Linked DNA regions of Homo sapiens: region 1 is linked to region 2. The links are contacts of gene promoters, found by promoter capture Hi-C in blood cells and fetal thymus (Javierre and others, 2016). All regions are on one chromosome and are shown on one strand. Each heading gives the region's core, a stretch centred on a gene start or on the middle of the fragment in contact. The rest is flanking DNA. Distances are from core to core; before and after follow the strand shown. Region 1 overlaps IFT172 (intraflagellar transport 172). Region 2 holds the start of SUPT7L (SPT7 like, STAGA complex subunit gamma).

Region 1 (3,719 bases), core at 1,220-3,719, 200 kb after region 2:
GGGATAATCACATGAGTATTTTCCCTGTGGGCTACTCCAATCCGGTGTTAAGGTACTCCCTCCCTTCCCACTGCCAGCAAATAGCATAGAGCCCTTCTGCAGTACAATATTCCAAACACTCTCCCATCCTAGATTATAAGAGTATGCCTTGACCAGGCGTGATGGCTGATGCCTGTAATCCCAGCACTTTGGGAGGCTGAGGTGGGCAGATCACAAGGTCAGGAGTTCAAGACCAGCCTGGCCAACATGGTGAAACCCCGTCTCTACTAAAAATACAAAAATTAGCCAGGCGTAGTGGCGGGCGCCTGTAATCCCAGCTACTGAGGAGGCTGAGGCAGGAGAATTGCTTGAACCCAGGAGGCAGAGGTTGCAGTGAGCTGAGATTGCACCACTGTACTCCAGCCTGGGTGACAGAGCAAGACTCTGTCTCAAAAAAAAAAAAAATATGTCTTGGCTGGGCACGGCGGCTCATGCCTGTAATCCTAGCACTTTGGGAGGGCGAGGTGGGCAGATCACTTGAAGCCAGGAGTTTGAGAGCAGCCTGGCCAACATGGCAAAACCTCAGCTCTACTAAAAATACAAAAATTAGCCGGGCATGGTGATGCGCACCTGTGGTCCCAGCTATTCAGGAGGCTGAGGCACAGGAATCACTTGAACCCGGGAGGCAAAGTTGCGGTGAGCTGAGATCATGCAACTGCACTCCAGCCTGGCTGATGCGCGAGATCGTATCTCAAAAAAAAAAAAAGTGAAAAAACAAGAGTATGTCTTTTATTATTTTTACTGCCCCTTCTTGTAACTAGGTTCCCTTTAGCATTTTTTTACTATTCATACCCTTCAATCTATGCATATGTGTATAATCCAGGTTTGGTATAGGAGTGCAGTTCACAGGACAAACTTGGGACTCCAGACTCCTTGAATTCAAATCTTGGTTCCAATTACCAACTTATATAACCATAGAGAGGTTATTTGACCTTCCCAAACCTTGGCTTCTTGATTTTCTCTGTGTAGAATAGGGTTAATAATAGTATTTGCCTCATATGATGATAAAGAAGATGGTAAGGATATTGGTAATGAAGGAGTGATGAGAGAATCTGTGCAAAGTGCTCGATAAATGTCACCTGCTGCCATTTTGGCTAGGAATCATCCTTGATCCCATTTTCTCCAGACTTCCCACATGTAGATTATCAGTAAGTCCTAAGGACTCTGTCTTCAAAACACATCCTGATGTCTCCATCCTTGTGCAGACCACTGCCGTCTCCCACCTGCAATATTGCACAGCCTCTTAATTAGTCGCACTGATACTGTTTCTTGTACCCCTACCATCTATTCATCCCAGAGCAGCTGAGGTCATTTTTTTAAACATAGATTGTGTCATTTTCATGACTGGAACCTTCCATTAGCTTACTGTTTTACTTAGTATAAAACCCAAACTCCTTGTGTGGCCTTAGCCCTGAAGTTTTTTGGCCTCTGCTTCCTTCTCATGCCAGCTTCCTGCTTGCCCATTAGTCTCCAACCACACTGGCATCCTTTTGGCTCTGTGAGTGTGCCAAGCTCATACCTGCTATAGAGCCTTAACACTAGCTGTTCGCTCTCCAGGAATAACTTTTCCCCATCCTGCCATGACTGGCTTTTTCTTGTATTCAGGTCTCAGCTCAAATGTCAGTTCATCAGAGAGACCTCCAACTACCAACTTAAGTGGCCCCTTCAGTCACTATCTATAACAGGGGTATCCAATCTTTGGCTTCCCTGAGCCACATCGGAAGAAGAATTATCTTGGGCCACACATAAAATATACTAACACTAATGATAGCTGATGAGCTTAAAAAAAAAAAAAAAAAAAGAGAAAAGAATCACAAAAAAATCTCATAATGTTTTAAGAAAGTTTATGAATTTGTGTTGGGCCACATTCAAAGCCATCTTGGGCCATGGGTTGAACAAGCTTGATCTGTAATATTACATTACTTTATTTTATTTTTTATTATCTCCAATTTTACTAATTATTTGTCTCCACCAGAATGGAAGTTCTCTGAGAGCAAGGCCCTCATCTTCCTTGGTCTCTATATGTCTCCAGTGACAAGACATTGGCTGGCACATCATAGATGTACATCAATTTGTATTTGCTGAACCAATGAATTAATGATGATTCTATAATAATATTACTATTAATGTTATTGCTTCCATGCCATAGGTGCTTTTCTGCTTTGGGCCAAGTAGCAAAAGCTCGATTCCTGCATGAGACCAATGAGATTGCAGATCAAGTATCCCGGGAATATGCAAGTATTATGCTCCTGATTCATTCTGTCTGTCTCCCAAGCTGATTTCTCTTAGTATTCAGCCCCATGATTCCTAGCTTTCCAGCCATCCCCAGTTTCCTTTACCCTGCCCACCCCACCTTTACCCTCAAGTCAGACCATTTCAGAATTGCTTTTGCTAAACCTCAAACCTTTAAGCTCCATGAAGTGTTTTACCTTCCCAAGTCTTTTGTTTTCTACATCCTTCTGGCCTTCCAATTTCAGCCCTCACAGACAGAATGGCAGCACCTACAGAAAAATCAGAACCTCCTTTTTCCCCCACAGGGCGGAGAAGGAACAGACTTTTATCAGGTCCGAGCACGTCTAGCCATGCTGGAAAAGAACTACAAACTGGCTGAAATGATCTTTTTGGAACAGGTAATAGGAAAAGAGGGACAGGATGGAAGAGGGGATATGAGGGAAAAAGAGAGAAAAGGGGGTACAAACTCAAGGGAGGAAAGCGTGCTGGTGAACTAGGCTTCCAAAGGTTTGGGGAAAACTTTCAAAGGGGTTTATATAGTTAATTTCACCCTTTTCTTAATTTCCTTCTCTTGTGTCAGTCCTTACTTTTCTAGACAAACTTCCTTCTTTGGCCTTTGATTACTACTTTCTTTCATAAGCAGTCTACTACCTCCCCTCCAGTCCAGAGCCTGTCTTTGCAATTCTTGTGCATAGGGGTAGATCCAGGTTTTGTGGGCCGGAAGCTTATACAATTTGAGGAGCTCTCTTTAAGAACAGTTGCCTTAGGCCAGGCGTGGTGGCTCACACCAGTAATCCCAGCACGCTGGGAGGCTGAGGCAGGTGGATCACATGAGGTCAGGAGTTCAAGACCAGCCTGGCCACATGGTGAAACCCCATCTCTACTAAAAATACAAAAAATTAGCCAGGAGTGGTGGCACACGCCTGTAATCCCAGCTACTCGGGAGGCTGAGGTGGGAGAATCGCTTGAGCCAAGGAAGCAGAGGTTGCAGTGAGCCCGAGATCACACAACTGCACTTCAGCCTCGGCAACAGAGTGAGACTCCATCTCAAGAAAAAGAACAGTTGCCTTGGAAAGGGTGTGTGCAAATAAGGAGCCCTGAAGCTTAAGCTTCTTTTAGTTTCCCAGTATTTCTGTTGGTATAGTAGTTAAAAGGCTTTTGGTCCTCATGGGCTGGCATCTTAGCCAGGCTGAGGAGAGCTTGCTGCTTTCTGATCCTCATATCTTTCTGGTGTCCCTCTCTGCTCTGCCTGTTTCCCCTAGAATGCTGTGGAGGAGGCCATGGGCATGTACCAGGAGCTACACCGTTGGGATGAGTGTATCGCTGTGGCTGAAGCCAAGGTACCTGTTTTATCTTCTCCACAGTTGTTCAGAATTTGGTTCTGCCAATTTCAAAAACCTCCTTTTGTCAAGGAGGCCATAGAAACCAGAACAGGGTTGGGGCTTGGA
Region 2 (4,247 bases), core at 1,081-3,580:
TCTCCAAACTTTCACTCTAGCATACTTATGGTTTCTAGCTTTTGTTTGGCACTTAGCACAAGTAATTTCATAATTTTTCCTATCTTCCCAACTATATATTAATGCCATCTTCTACCTTTTTATACTCCCATCTCCTGAATATCCATTTTCTAAAATATCTGGTGTTAAAGAAAGTTTATTATTTTGGCTAAGGGACCAGCTTTATCTGATTAGATATTCCACATTTCAGGATATCTTCACAAAGTACAAAAAATTCAAGAGAATATCCTATATTGAATAACATCCCATTTATTTGATTGAATAGAGTTCCATCCCCTCCAATGATAATCACATAGCACAAGGTCAGTACTTAATAAATATAAAATTTTAGAATTGTAAAAATAATAATTTTATGCTTAGGACAAGTTTTGAACAAGAGAGTGCATTAAAAATAAATTTTTAAAAAATCCAAAGTGCCTATAAGTCAATTTCTTTACAACAGTAAAGTCAGTGAATCTCTCTGGGTTTTGGTTACCTCATGTGCAAATTGTGTTTGCCCTATCTATCTCAAGGAGCCATGAAAAGCTGTATGATTTAAAAAAACATTTAAGGGTACCACTTGTAATGAACTTAAAATATTAACCTCCGGCAGCAATTTTAATTTCTTACCCATTCCCCAGGTGCAACCCATCTCATCATCTTGGCTACCAGCATTTATCTTCCTTTCAGAGGTATCCATTTCCTCTTCTTCATCTGAGTCTTCTCCTAGCATCTTCTTCTCCAACAATATTTGCTGCTGCTTGCGCAATTCCTTCAACTGTGTTACTGTTAACTCGGATTCTGCCTCTCGGTCTTCCTCTGGTCCCTGATGAACCAAGGAAAAAAAGGTTATTTATTTATTTAGAGACAGGGTCTTGCTCTGTCGCCTAGGCTGGACTGGAGTGCAGTGGCTGTAATACACCTCACTGCAGCCTTGACCTCCTGGGCTCAGGTGATCCTCCCACCTCAGCCTCCTGAGCAGCTGGGACCATGATGCCTGGCTAATTTTTTTTTTTTTTTTTAAGAGACAGGGTCTTGCCATGTTGCCCAGCCTCCTCTCAAACTCCTGGGCTAAAGCGATCCTCCCGCCTGGGCCTCCCAAAGTGTTGGGATTACAGGCGCGAGCCACCGCGCCTGGCCAAACAAGTTATTTTAGAGTTCGGGATTGTGAACATGACTTTCAGAAATATAGCAATGTGTACAGCCGTCTGAAGATGATAGGCCAGACTTGATTCCTTCACTTTCGTAATCGCTGAGTGGGAGATTCTTCTTCCTCATCCAAAGCTTAAGAAGCACAAGAACGCAGTCCAATGAACCCGAAATTTCAATTCTAGGTTTTTCTACCTACCTGCAGGATAAAGAGCCGGGTGCTGCCTCCAAAGCGAACAACATGCCCAACGTGGACTCGACAGTAGGTGCGAGGTGGGATGCGAGTTTTGTTGAGAAAAGTGCCATGGGTGCTTCCCAGATCGTAGAGGTAGAAGCCCGGCCCGTTGCTGTCGCATTCTCCGTCAGGGCCGGACGCCCTGTGCTGCAGCACTGCGTGGTACCGAGACACCGAAGGGTGCTCCAGGCACACGTCGCAGCCAGACAGCCTCCCGAAAAGGCAGTAACTCGTCCCTTTCAAGCTACGGGTGCCAAGGATAGTGCCGCCCTTCAGGGTCTCTAAGCTGTAGGGGGCTGTGGCAGGGCCACCCCATGGAGGCTCTTGGTAGGGGGGAGCCCGGGCTGGACCGCCAGGGGAAGAAACCGCTGTCGGGGGGCGCGACTGCTCCTCCTGTAGACTCCTAAAATCACCGCAGTCCGGCTGAGGAGGAGGGATGTCGGGCTCCCCAGAATTGGAGTCCTGCAACGCAGTGGGCCCTTCCTTCTGTACCTCCTCAGGGTTTGAAGAACTGCTGGCCGGGGCCTTACTCCGCGCCGCTGGGGACACCGGCAGAGCTGGCTTCTTGAAGTCCCCACTGAGGTCTTGCGACGCCAGGGTCTCTGACTGAGAGAGAATGTCAGCCATCCTCAACCGGTGCAACTTCGAAATCCGCTCCTTCGAAACCCACCCTTCGGTCTTTACGTTCCTGTCCACGTCCCACTCTCCCAAGCTCCCAGTGGCGTCTGTAGGCGGCGATGGTGAAGTTGCTCCTTCACGACCTGGAGCGTTGCGAAGTGGTGCTAACATGAGAAGGTCATAATATGAGAAAAACAAAACGGTTATCGGGATGCTGTGCAGAACGGGGACATATTTAGAGGTTACAACGGGATCGTAATGACTTCCTGTTGCATAGCTTGATTGAGAAGAAGCGCTTCCGGCGGTCTTAGATCACTAATCAACAAACCAGCTTTCGGGGTCTGACGCGATCCTTGCCTCAGGCCTCTCGAGGTCCAGACAGCCGCCCAGCCCGCTCTGCGACGCAGCAGTGAATAGTGTGGTACCTCCTTGTCTCGGTTCAGGTCCAGACCTCCCCGTCTTCCGGCTGCCCTGAACGTCAGGCGACCTCAGGACCCTGTGATTGGCGCCTGCGCCGGCGGACCGTGACCGAGGAAACCCCTGGAGGGACTTGGGCATTCCTTGGGCTCCGTGCCTGTTCTTCGTGCTCCTTTCGGTAAAGTAAGGGAAGAGGGCGACTTTTTTGTTATTTCGTTCATTCATTTATTTTTTTTCTGAAATTATTAAGGCAGAATAGTTAAGTGGTTAAGAGAGCAGACTCTGGAGACTGTCGATTTTTGACCTCGCCATTTGTGACATTGGGCAAGACACTAGGCCTCAGCCCTCACTCTGAAAAATGGGGATAAGATTATTAGCCTCATAGGGTTGTTGGAAGAATTGAATCAAACAATAAAGGCCAGCCAGACCGGTGGCTCATGCCTGTAATCCCAACATTTTGGGAGGCTGAGGCGGGAGGATTGCTTGAGCCCAGGAGTTCCAGAGGAGGCTGGGCAACATGGCGAGACCCTGTCTCGCCAAAAAAAAAAAAAAAAAAGAAAAAATCCAGGTTTGATGGTGCGCGCCTGTAGTCCCAGCTACTCCAGAGGCTGAGGTGGGAGGATTGCTTGGTCCCAGGAGGTTGAGGCTGCAGTGAACCATGACTGCACCACTGCACTCCAGCCTGGGCTACAGAGTGAAACCCTGTCTCAAAAAAGAAACAAACAAAAAAGGTGAAGTCTGGCATATAGTAAACATTCAACAAATGCCAGATATTTCTGTGTGCCTGGCCCTGTAACAAGACCACAGCCATAAGAAATAGACGGGCAGAAAAAATCTATTGCGATAAGTACTAATTAAAATCCAAGGATAACTGCTGTGACATAGACTTGCAAAGCACTGTGAGAATAGAGAAAGGGAGATGCACTGGTGAAGTGACGGACGGTGGGGACTTATGCTGTACTTAAAAATGAATATGAGTCTGCCAGGGATGTGCAAGGTTGGCAGAGCATTTCTGGCAGAGTTCACAGCTGAAAGTGTCAATTGTGGAAATGTACAGCATTCTCAAGAAACTGAGTAGTATAATGTTGTTAGAACAAAGGTAGTCATTTCACCCAGGAAGCTCCTCCTTTGTGCTTCCAGTACCCCAGGTCCATATACCTCTAGAACAGTACTTACCATGTTTCATATTGAAATATTCTGCTTCTGTTTCTCTTCCTCACTTCAGGGCAAGGATCTCACATTATCAGTCTTTGACCGACACAGAATGCCTGGCATTTGATAAATGTTTGTTGAACTTGAAGAGACATATGGACAATGAATCTGCAAAGGTGAGTTGAAACCAGATTGTGAATTTTGTTGAATGGTAAGCCAAGGAATTCTGACTTTTTCCAATAGGCAATGGGAAGCCATTTGATTTAAGTTTTAAAAAGAGTAAGTCTAGCAGCAGTGTAGAGAATAGATGACATACAAAGAGAGATTGGAGGAAGGGATACCAGTTAGAAGGCAGCAGAAATCTCTCACGTTCTATATGTCAAAAGTTGAAAGCATAATGCCATTTAGATTAATGGTTCATAAATTTTTCCACCAGGATCATGCCTAAGACACACAGAGTAAGAACCACTTCTTATTATCTTTAACCCTACTAGTTTTTCTCCTATTGATCCAGCACAGATGTATCAAGATACCTTATCATGCCTTGCTTATTGTTCAGGATTGAGCGTGATGGTAGTTCTGGTAATGAGTTAGTGAGTGAGATGGGAAATAGGGATACTAGAGCTCCAGATGCTGTTGTAGCTATTGGTCCACTAAT

The links. The method cuts DNA at HindIII sites, captures the fragments that hold promoters and counts their contacts. A CHiCAGO score of 5 or more calls a contact.
Region 1: a fragment that was not itself captured here is called in contact with the fragment with the promoter of SUPT7L in region 2 in 1 of 17 cell types (endothelial precursors); the score reaches 6.4 in endothelial precursors.

Annotation. Positions count from the first base shown.
Region 1 is chr2:27,461,651-27,465,369 of GRCh38, reverse strand. IFT172 (intraflagellar transport 172) reads left to right here. Exons shown (of 48, transcript NM_015662.3): 19 at 2,189-2,273; 20 at 2,577-2,669; 21 at 3,534-3,611. Among named protein-coding and RNA genes, the nearest start is that of KRTCAP3, 21 kb to the right of the region's middle. The HindIII fragment of the contact is 1,056 bases long and covers 1,942-2,997 here.
Region 2 is chr2:27,661,697-27,665,943 of GRCh38, reverse strand. SUPT7L (SPT7 like, STAGA complex subunit gamma) reads left to right here and starts at 2,330. Exons shown (of 6, transcript NM_014860.3): 1 at 2,330-2,615; 2 at 3,663-3,765. The coding sequence starts at 3,752. SLC4A1AP (solute carrier family 4 member 1 adaptor protein) reads right to left here and starts at 2,055. Exons shown (of 14, transcript NM_018158.3): 1 at 1,367-2,055; 2 at 649-844. The coding sequence starts at 2,029. The HindIII fragment of the contact is 6,150 bases long and covers 1,305-4,247 here.